Linked DNA regions of Homo sapiens: regions 2 and 3 are each linked to region 1. The links are contacts of gene promoters, found by promoter capture Hi-C in blood cells and fetal thymus (Javierre and others, 2016). All regions are on one chromosome and are shown on one strand. The core of a region is centred on a gene start or on the middle of the fragment in contact, and the rest is flanking DNA. Distances in the headings are between cores, read along the strand shown.

What was found. Contacts are between HindIII fragments. The CHiCAGO score rates a contact against its expected background, and 5 or more counts as called.
Region 2: a fragment that was not itself captured here is called in contact with the fragment with the promoter of IL20RA in region 1 in 4 of 17 cell types (total B cells, monocytes, naive B cells and 1 more); the score reaches 7.2 in total B cells.
Region 3: a fragment that was not itself captured here is called in contact with the fragment with the promoter of IL20RA in region 1 in 2 of 17 cell types (naive B cells and total B cells); the score reaches 5.4 in naive B cells.

The regions. Positions count from the first base shown.
Region 1 is chr6:137,042,886-137,046,805 of GRCh38, forward strand. IL20RA (interleukin 20 receptor subunit alpha) reads right to left here and starts at 2,080. Exons shown (of 7, transcript NM_014432.4): 1 at 1,756-2,080. The coding sequence starts at 1,843. RefSeq lists silencers at 1,573-1,622, 1,693-1,802, 1,833-1,892. The HindIII fragment of the contact is 2,398 bases long and covers 886-3,283 here.
Region 2 is chr6:137,627,867-137,631,825 of GRCh38, forward strand. No RefSeq gene overlaps it. Among named protein-coding and RNA genes, the nearest start is that of LINC03004, 36 kb to the right of the region's middle. The HindIII fragment of the contact is 2,496 bases long and covers 1,397-3,892 here.
Region 3 is chr6:137,650,111-137,653,648 of GRCh38, forward strand. No RefSeq gene overlaps it. Among named protein-coding and RNA genes, the nearest start is that of LINC03004, 14 kb to the right of the region's middle. RefSeq lists enhancers at 616-785, 2,835-3,351. The HindIII fragment of the contact is 1,065 bases long and covers 879-1,943 here.

The sequences.
Region 1 (3,920 bases), core at 830-3,329:
TACATCTTCTAAGGTGGTCTTCCCAGCAGTCCTTAGACCTTAGCCCAAAGACCCAGGAGAGGACGGGAATACCCTAAGAAGAGCTAAGAAAGTAGTATCAAGGTCTCTTGGGTCAGAAAAGATTTCTTACTGTTTTGTTTTGTAAATTTTATTTTGAAGTCAAGAACATTACTACCTGGTAATGTCAGCACCCAACAATTTTATTTCTCTCTCTCACTTTCTTTGTTTTTGGTTTTTTCCCCAAAGACAGGGTCTCACCCTTGGCCAGACTGGAGTGCAGTGGCGTGATCATAACTCACTGCAGTCTGGAACTCCTGGGCACACGGAGTAGCTAGGACTACAGGTTTTTGCCACCACGTCTGGCTAGTTTTTTATTTTTATTTTTTTAATGTTTAGTATAGACAGGGGTCTCCGTATGTTGCCCAGGCTGGTCTGAAACTCCTGACCTCAAGCCATCCTCCTGCCTATGTCTCTGTCTCTCAAAGTGTTAGGATTACAGGTGTGAGCCACAGCGCCCAGCTTCTCTCTTCGATTAAAAATAAAAACAAATTTCTGTCTGTTAGTTGAAGGCTCAATATTTGCACGTCAGTCGTTTCTTCCCATTCAGTCTACCCGGGAATATTAAAAGGAAAAATAACTATAATTTCTGATAAATTTAAAAGATAAAATATTTTATGTATAATAGCTATCGTTCAAAATCTCTCCAAGATCTGTGTGCATACTTTTCTTATTGTTGTAACTATATTGAATTTAACTTTTTCTTTAACTACCAAGGACTCCAGATTCACCGTCAACTTTCTTCCTGCATTCACTCTTACTGTTCAGTTCTGGGTTAAAAGACAGCGGGGCCTGAACGAAGTGTCTACAAAGCACAGTATTTGGAGAAGCTTTGTTGTTGTTTTTTAAAATAATTTTTTTAAAAAGGGATCCCGGATATCTTTTTTGTTTTTTTAAAAAATCTTTTTCTCATGTACGAGAAATACAGGGAAAAAAAGCAATCAGGTTAATGAATCATTCTGGTTTACTGGATTCCAATTGGTAGAGAATTTAAACTTAAAAACCAAACAAAACGAAAGAGCTCTTCAGTTACCTTATGTCGTAAACGAGTTAAAAGTTTTGTTATTTCTGAAAAATCAAAGAGCACTATCTGTACATGGTCATAACTGCAAAGGAAACAACGGCGTACCCAGGACAGGGGGAGCTTACTTTAAGAAGCTGCGTCTTTCTGGATCATGTTCCTTCGGGGCTGACCCTTTCGGGGAGTTTGGCTTTTAAAGCGCGGATCTCGCGACGCGCGGCTTGCAGGACTGCGGGGCCCGGCGGCCGAGACGCGGCATCCACAGGGGCCCCTCCGCGCGGCCGCGGCGGTGGTGGCGGGAACCTGGGACTGGCCGGCGAGGGGCCCCGCATGGTAACCGTCCCCGACCGCAAGTCATAGGCTGTGGGCACCGCGCAGAGCGCACCCCCCACCGAACTCCCCCCACCCCACCTCAATTCTCGAGACCGAAAGTGCGGAGCGCGGAGTCCTGCAAACTTGACCCCGAGCCAAGGTGCGCGAGGCGACGGCGAGTGTCCCCCGGGCTCCCTGCAGCCCCGGGGCTGGAAGCTCCGGCCTCCGCGCACCTCGTCCTCTGCCCGCCCGAAAGCGAAACCTGGCCGGCGGGCAGGAGGGGAGAGCTCGGCCTCGAGCTCTGCCTGGCGGGGCCCCGGCCTGGAGGCATCCCCGACCCGCACCTGGCGGCGCGACCCACCTACCTGCCCGTCCCCAAGGCGCCGCCAGGAGCAACAGCAGCAGCGGCGGCAGCGGCAGCGGCCGCAGGGCCGGGCGGCCGGGAGCCCGCATGGGCGGCGGGGCTGGGTCACATGTCGGGGGGCAGCAGACTGCTCAGTCCCACGCCCGCTGGGGCCAAGCGCGGCCGCGCGGCCTCAGCTCCGCGCCTGGGGCTCTGCGTGCCACGCTCCAGGCGACCTGAGTCCCAGGGCGCCTCCGCCACAGCCGCGTCCCCCAGGCTTCCCCAGAAACCAAGGGCGAGCGACTCGCGGAGCCCCCACGCGCGCTCCCCCGGCTACCCAGCTGGATGGCAGCGCGAGGGCAGTTCTCGCGGATTTATAGTCCCCAGCCACTCGGCTGTCAGTCCTGAGAGTCTGAGAGTTTCCACCTCTCGGGGTTCATGCCCAGACCAACCAGGTCACTAGGCAGGTAAAACCTCCTTCTGGTAATGAGCGAGGCGAGTGCATTGCAAAGAGATTCTGGTATTCAGGCCGGTCTGATGGTCAGTTAAAGTTCAATATCGGAAGACGGATGAAATAGAGCGTTATTTCTCGATATACAGTTAGGCACTCAGCCGTAGATCTTACAGTCATGCATCATTTAAGATGACAGGATTACCTCCTGAGAAATGTCTTAGGCGAGTTTCTTGTGTGAACATCTTAGAGTGTACTCACACCTATATGGTATAGCCTCTTACACGCCTACGCTATATGGTACAGGCTGTTGTTTGCTCCTAGGCTACAAACCTGTACGGCAAGTGACCATACTGAATACTGCAAGCAATTGTAACACAATGGTAAATATTTGTGTATCTAAACATGTCTGAACGTAGAAAAGGTACAGCAAAAGTACAGTATGAAAGATTTTAAAAATGGTACACCTGTATAGGGCACTTTCCATGAATGGAGCTTGCAGGACTGGAAGTCGCTCTGGCTGAGTCTGTGAGTGGTGAGTCAATGTGAAGGCCTAGGACATCACTGTGTACTACTATAGGCTGTATAAACACTGTATTACACTTAGGCTATGCTAAATTTATTAAAAAATTATTTCTTCAATAATAATAAATTAACCTTAGCTTACTATGATTTTTTACTTTCTACTTTTAAATCTTTTAAACTTTATTTATTTATTTATTTTTGAGATGGAGCATTGCTCTGTAGCCCAGGCTGGAGTGCAGTGGTGCGATCTCGGCTCACTGCAACCTCTGCCTTCCGGTTTTGATGATTGTCCTGTCTCACCCTCCAGAGTAGCTGGGATTACATGTGTGTGCCCCCACGCCCGGCTAATTTGTTTGTATTTTTAGTACAGACTGGGTTTCGCCATGTTGGCCAGGCCGGTCTCGAGCTCCTGACCTCCGGTGATCTACCCTCCTTGGCCTCCCAAAGTGCTGGGATTACAGGCGTGAACCACGACACCCGACCTAAACTTTTTGACTTGTAATAACGTTTGACTTAAAACACAAACACATTGTGCAGCAGTATGAAAATATTTTTTCTTTGTATTCTTTCTATAAGCTTTTTCTATTTTTAAATTTTTCTTTTTCTTTATTTTTTCTTTACTTTTTAAACTTTTTTGTTATAAACTAAGGCACAACCACACACATTAGCCTAGGCCTGCACAGGGTCAGGATTGTCAGTGCCACTGATGCCACCTCACATCCTGTCCTCCTGGAAGGTCTTTAGAGACAATAGGAATTTTTTCAGCTCTATTATAATCGTATGAGACCACCTTTGTATATGCAGTCTGTCACTGACTGAAAAGTTGTTATTTGATTTCATTCAACTCTCACAACCTGCAGTTAGGTCCTGGCCCTTTTTTCAGATGAGGCAAGGGAAACTCAGAAAGTCTAGGAATCATCATGAAGTCCCCCAAACCTGTGAGTGGCCTGTGACCAGTGGTGTGTGGACTTCCACACAAGGCGGTGGGTCCTAGGTTCCATGCTCTTTATAATGGGAGGGGGGAAGGGTGCAATTAAGAGGTGAGTCTTGAAATACTATATGAAAAATCTGAGAGAGGCTCTCAGCTTTGTACCTTTCTAGGTGGTTCTAAAGGTTGGGCACAGCCTGAAGATAGATACACGATTTACCTCAGATGTGTTCCATCTCTTTTGCCCTTAAATGTCTGTTTTCAAATGCTCCAATAAAGGGAA
Region 2 (3,959 bases), core at 1,395-3,894, 590 kb after region 1:
CAAATATGGTATACTAATGTGTGTATATATGTATCTTTATATATGTATATATAGTTTTATTTGTGTATGTATATATAGTAATGTTAGAGTATATACAAGGATATATATGCATATGTAGTAATGTCAAGTATAGTATACTAATGTATGTATGGATATATATGTATTTATATAGTAATATAGAGTATTATTATTATTATTGCATGAAAAATCCATAGTTTGTCCTGCCCCTAGGCTCTAGAGTTTTGGCAGGAGTCTATTCTGTTACAAGTGAAGAGCTCAATCATCTTCCTCTTCCACTAGACCAAACACTACGAGGGACTGTGCCTTCTTTCATATTGTCACCCCAGCATAATGTTGGGAATAGTAGCTATTCAGTAAGAATCTGAATAAATGCGTTTTACTGCCATTATTTTGAGTTCCTAACTCTAGAAAGATACTTGCTTATGTCTAAAATAAAAAGGACCCAGTTATTTTTCCATGAAATGGCACATGTTAAAGTGGAATTCATTTTGGATTAGGCAGACCTAAAGCTTTAGATTTGTTTTTACATTTTTGAAAATTTCAGGATTTTCTCTAATTAAAAAAATTTTACACTAGGTATGGTCCTAGGATTAAGAGTAAAGAAGGTCAGCCAGGCGCGGTGGCTCATGCCTGTAATCCCAGCACTTTGGGAGGCCGAGGCGCGCGGATCATGAGGTCAGGAGATCGAGACCATCCTGGCTAATACGGTGAAACCCCGTCTCTACTAAAAATACAAAAAAAATTAACCGGGCGTGGTGGCGGGCACCTGTAGTCCCAGCTACTTGGGAGGCTGAGGCAGGAGAATGGTGTGAACCCGGGAGGCGGAGCTTGCAGTGAGCCAAGACTGCGCCACTGTACTCCAGCCTGGGCAATAGAGTGAGACTCCGCCTCAAAAAAAAAAAAAAGTAAAGAAGATCTTTAGAAAGTTTCTCTTGTATAAGGAAAATGTAAATAGGCTCATTGTAGAGAGAACCATAGCTTTGGGCTTGTCCATGTCATGGAGTTTAAATGTCTCTATAAATAAATTACACTGTCACTATATATATATAGTAATGTGTACGTGTGTGTGTACACATTATATACACACACATATACATATATGGTCTGTGGCCTGTCAGTATGTGTGTGTATATATATGTATGTGTATGTGTATATATATATGTATGTGTATGTGTATATATATATATATACACACACACATATATACACACACACACACATATATATATATGGTCTGTGGCCTGTCAGTATGTGTGTATATATATATGTATGTGTATGTGTATATATATATATGTATGTGTATGTGTGTATATATATATATACACACACATATATACACACACACAGGCTTTATATGATAAGGCTTTATATACAAAGCTTCATTATTATTATACATATATACAGGTATCATTATACACGTATGTATGATTGTGTGTGTGTGTGTATATATATATATGTATAAAGCCTCATTATCAAGAGATATAGCAAGAACACTGGATATAATAAGACTGAGCTCACTAAAGCAAAAGGAGTCAACTGCTTAACTAGGCAAATTTTGAAAATTTCCTTCCAAATCAGTAAAAAGAGGCCCAAGACTCCATAACCAGAAATTCTGATGTTGTATTGCTTGCAACAATTAGAATAAGACGAGATCTCAAATGTATGCTACAGAGCAAGGGTCCTCAACCCCCGGGACCATGGATCCATACTGGTCTGTGGCCTGTCAGGAACAGGCCTCACAGCAAGAGGTGAGCCGTGGGTGGGTGAGCATTACCGCCTGTGCTCCACGCCTCCAGTCAGATCAGTGGGGCCATTGGATTCTCATAGGAGCATGAACCCTATTGTGAACGGCGGATCTAGGTTGCCGGCTACTTATAAGAATCTAGTGCCTGGCGATCTGAGGTGGGAACAGTTTCACCCCAAAACCATCCCCTCCCCAAACCCACTTCCACGGAAAAATTGTCTTCCACGATACTACTCCCTGGTGCCAAAAAGGTTGGGAGCCACTGCTATAGAGGGTTCTCCAAAAGACAGAAAATATTTGTATCAAAAAAAATGACTTTGCCCATGCAGGAGTAGAAAGTACTTAAAATATTGCCTCATTTTAATTCTGAAATCATTTGTTTGAGGTAGCACTTCTAGGCCTCATCTTTTTTTGCCAGAACAATGTCCAAAACCATCAGCGAGATTGAGCTAATGGGCCAGGTGCGGTACCTTATGCCTAGCACTTTGGGAGGCTGAGGCGGGCAGATCACTTGGGGTCAGGAGTTTGAGACCAGCCTGGCCAACATGGTGAAACCCTGTCTCTACCAAAATTACAAAAGCAAATGTATCCAGGCACGGCAGTGCACACCTGTAGTCCCAGCTACTCGGGAGGCTAGGCAGGAGAATCACTTGAACCCGGGAGGCAGAGGCTGCAGTGAGCTGAGACCGCACCACTGCACACCAGCCTGGGCAACAGAGCAAGGCTACATCTCAAAAAAAAAAATTGAGCTAATGAGTGTGAAAGTACTTTGCAAATTCCAAATTACTTTGTATAAGTTAGTTAGTCCTATTTCTCTTGTGCTTTGAGATTCTGACATCGTATCCTGTGGTTCATAATAACTAGATAGCTCTAGTAATTCAAAGCTACATAAAACGTGGTTATTAAGTGAAATCATTAGAAATGTGTCCAGAAAAAAATTGCATTTTCTGAAGGACAGAAAATACACGTATATCTCTCTTGGAGAGTTTCAAGTAAGGGCTGCCTTAGGGTCCCCTATTAATGAGGCCATCTCTGACCCCTTAGGTGTGGATGTTCAGTTGTTACAATGTTTCTAACACTACTCTATTAAAAAGGCCAAAAACTAACTGCACAACAGATGGGCAAGTGCCCATTATGGGCCTGCCCTGTCAGTGCACTCTGCTGCAGCTGTGGTTGGACTTGCTCCCTTGGCAATTCCTGGGCTCACAGTGGTCAGTGAAATACTTAGGCAGGACGTGGAAGGTCCTAAGGTGCTGTGACAATGCTCCAGCCTCTACTCTTGTGTCTGGATGTGAGAGGATATGGCATAGACAGCTGAAAGCCTCAGAAGACAGGTGGAGTCCAGGAAATTCCATTTGCAGCTATCTTTATCAGGGTGAGCTGCAATTGTTTGCTGTGATAGTGAGCTGAAAGCAACAGTTCTATCAGATTATTTTTTAGAGATGACTAAAGTACACTATAGAAAGGAAGTGCTCAAGATCTGTTTGCTGATGTATTGCTTGCTTCATAAAGCTACCTATTAAGAAAGACACAAAATAACGAAATAATAGCCTAAACAATGTTAAAATAGGAAGATAGAAATAGGACTTTCTCTTTCTCATTTCTAAAGTGTGTATAGAGTTCTCTTATTCTCTCTATAGCATTCAGATACCCACTGGGAAGAAAACAAAAACAAAACCAGAAACCATCATAGATATTTCACAATGAGAAAGTTTGTTACAGGGAATTGGTTTCACCAATAATGGGAAAGCTGAGAAGCCAAATAAGGAGCAGCGAGAAACAACCCAGTGCTTAGCAATACAATAGCAGCAAGCTGCTACCACCTTAGGGCTGGAAGGAAGCTGGAGTTGCAGGGTCTGATGAGCCAGAGCTGTACAGCAGGAGTTACCATAGTCAGTACTTCTGGCAGCAACTGGAGCCAGAAGTTTAATTTCCTTATATGGTAAAGCAGAGGTTGTATTGTGCGATTACCTTGACTAAGAACTATCCTCTGACAGAGTTTCCAGGTTACCTCTCTCTCTTTCTGGATGTTCTTGATAGAGACAGAATCCAGTTATATTTTCTCCACTTTGCTAGATGATGTTATGGCCATCTATCTTTTACAAATAAATGCTAGTTAATTATTTAAGCTTTAGCAGTAAGCCTGTTCTCAGATCTAATTAAACATAAGTGAAAAATAAAAGACACACAGGCA
Region 3 (3,538 bases), core at 161-2,660, 610 kb after region 1:
ACAAACACATATACATAACTTAGTATATGTTATAATATATAGATATATATTATACCTATTATCTATCTCTCTACCTATGTGTGTTTACATATGCATATATACACGTGTATATATACACATATATAATTTAGTATATGTAATATATAGATTATATATTCTATCTATGTGTGTATACATAGGTATATATACATATATAACTTAGTACATATTCTAGTATAATATATAGATATATATTCTATCTACCTATCTAGGTGTGTATACATAAGTGTATATATACATGTGTATATATACACATATATAACAGTATATATAATTTATAGATTATATATTCTATCTATCTATCTATCTATCTATCTATCTATCTATCTATCTACCTGTCTATCTATCATCTCTGTCTCTCTCTCTCTATCCATCTATCTTTTAGCAGAATTTTGTCTCTGCAAAGTTCAGGATCAGCAATAGAGACCCTTAAGCTAACATGAAATATGTACAAGGCTGATGGCCACTTTACCCTGCAGGATGAGAGAGTGAAAAGGAGCTGGCCTTTTCAAAACGGCAGGAGAATAGCCTGAGGCTGGCTAATTTCGGCAATCAAGCTGGTGGCAGTTTATCTATAAACATGAGGCTATGAGGCCAGCATGCATGGGTTTTTTTTGTTGTTGTTGTTGTCAAAAAGATGCTTAAGGAAGAAAAGGGAGAAGGAGGAGGAGAAAGAAGTGAAAAAACAAACAATATTTACTAAAGCTGAACTTATGCATAGCCTATGACCTAGCAATTCTATTCCTAGGTGCTCACCCAACAGAAATAGGAACATGTGATCACCTAAAAAGAGGAGTATTTATTTATAGCAGTGCTATTTGTAATAGACCTGAACTGGAAGCTTCCCATTGACATTAATAGTGGAAGGAATAAAGTAATCAGAAATATTAATCAAATGGAATATGATCCAGCAATGAGAATAAACAATTTACTACTGTATGCAACAGATGGATAAATCTCACAATCATATTGTTGAAAAAAGAAGCAAGACACAAAAACATGTAAGCTGTCTGAGTCCATTTATACAAAGTTCAAAAGCAGATCAAACAAATCTGTGCTGGGAGAAGTCCAGGTGTGATACCCTACCTTGTTTTAACCTGATTGACTCTCTCTTATCTGAGAGAGCAGGACAGACTCCACTTTGGTTTCTTCGCTTGCAGCCCCTCGTTCCCCCTGCTTAAGGACATAACTGGTGCAAGCTAACTCCAAGTACATCCAGGAATTGCTTACTGATAAGATACTGAGGCAAGCTGTACTACCCACTCCTGGAAACGTGCTTGGTTGATGGTACCCAAAGCCCCTGCGTTTATCACTTTGTGATAGCTTAAGCCCCTGCACCTGGAACTTTTTATTTTCCTGTAACAGTTTCTGTAACCATTTATCTTTTACTTTTTGCCTGTTCTGCTTTTGTAAAAATTGCTTCAGCTAGACTCCCCCTCCCCTATTTAGACCAAGGTATAAAAAGAAATCTAGCCCCTTCTTCGGGGCTGAGAGAATTTTTGAGCTCTAGTCGTCTCTCGGTCCCCGGCAATAAAGGACTCCTGAATTAGTCTCAAAGTGTGGTGTTTCTCTATAACTCGCTCGGTTACAACACAGGTAGTGCTGACCTTTGTTGCGGGGGTGGGGAAGGTTTGAAAGAGCAGGTAGGGAGTTGCCAGGTACAGGTAATTGTCTATTGCTTAATCAGGTGATGGGTCAGTTGATTAAAATTTGTTGAGTGGTATGCAACGAATATGTGCAACTTTCTGCACTTCAATAAAAAAAAATTCTTAAATGAAAAAAAAAGGACACCTCAACTGAAGATGAGAATGTCTTAGCAGGCATTATCCCCTTGTCACTCCCTGAATCCATGGACAGCAGACCAGATTCTGGGGCCCAAAGTAGAAGGACAGGAACCTGAATGAAGCTTACTCCTTCTCTGGGTGATCACATAATGCCTTAGAAAACAAATGAAAAGGGAGACTGTCTGCATGCCACATGCAAAGTCCTGTAGGGGAGAATAGGCCAAGGATGATGTGGCGTGGTGTGGGATGGCAGAGAGATAGGGACAGGAATTCTGTGGGCAATGCTGGCACTGACTGACAGTGTGTTTTACCTAGAAGGGGCTTTGTTCATCATGCCATATGACCCTCTAACCTTATATTTGGAGAGCAGAAGCCACAATCTACTGAAATAATCTGCCTGAAGCTTTATATTTACTATCTCAAGTCTTTGTATTGATTGAAGACCTTTCAGTTATTTGGCCTACAAAGTGACTCACCAAGACAGCCAAGTATAAAGGGGTCCCCGGAGAAATTCCAACTGGCCTGTGCACTGTGAGGAGTGTGCACTGGGGCGGAGCCTCAGGAAGTTTGCGCCATTTGCAGGGGAGGAAGAGCCTGGCTGGCCTCTCCTGATCCAGTGTGATAACCTGGGGACTCAGTCTGTGAGATGGGGAGCCTCTCTCACTTTGCTGAGTTTTTTTCCTTTTCACCCAATAAAACACTACCCTCCTCACCCTTCAAACTGTCTGTGAGATTAATTTTTCTTGGTCATGTGGCAAGGACGCTGTCTTTAGCTCAACTAAGGAAAAAGTCCTACAACAGCTTTGGTGCCCAGAACATAGGGCTTGAGAAGGGGTGAGTGAAATGGGGACTCAAAACCTCTCACATTCGCTTCTGAGCCTTTTGGTCCTATGGCATTCCTCTTCTTTTTTTCAGGACATTAATGACATGAAAACTTTTTTTTTTTTTACAATACTGGAGGTGGTTCACACACACCCCAATGGCCACAGGCATGTGTATGGGACAGTTGGGTGGGGCAGCTCCCTGCTCCCCATTCTCTACTGTCTGGGGTGCATGGCTGAGTCTGCCGCATGTATGCACAGTGTCCAACAGCCATTAACAATGGAATGAGCCAAGGGTGGGAATGAGCCACAGCAGCTGCCTGAGCCCCAAGGGATCCCATGCAGCTGGCGGTATTCCCTGCCAGGCACCCATGGAGTCTCCCCCTCCCCCAGCCAGGGAGTCCAACCCCATCAGACAGCAATTAAGCTTCTCTCTAGGGTGGAGGAACTATTTGCATAAGAATAAGAGGTTTTTCCCCCAGGCATCCCTTTTTCTTCTCCACTCCATCAGCAGTTAACTTTTAAATGAGTTTATTTTTCCTTTTAGAAGACATTTTCTTAGGCTAGGAATGATAAGGATCATTATCATAATTTAGTCCACCTATTTATGTGGACTAATTATGTTTATATTCTCTGTAAAGTTTTAATTGTGAAAAAGGATTTGTGAGGTTGGTCTTAAGCTGTAGCCAATGTGGTATGCTTTGCATGTCTGTGTGGTCAGTAGCAAACTTTGCTGCACACCTCCATCTTGTTTTATGTCCTGAGGGCATATGTCCTGAGGGTGTGGCCTGTAACCACATGGCAAGGCTTTGTTTAGCAATCCTGCCTAGGGAATGAGTCCTTTCTGGTTTGATATCTGCACATTTTCCTAGCCCTGTCTCTTAAAGGGCTCCA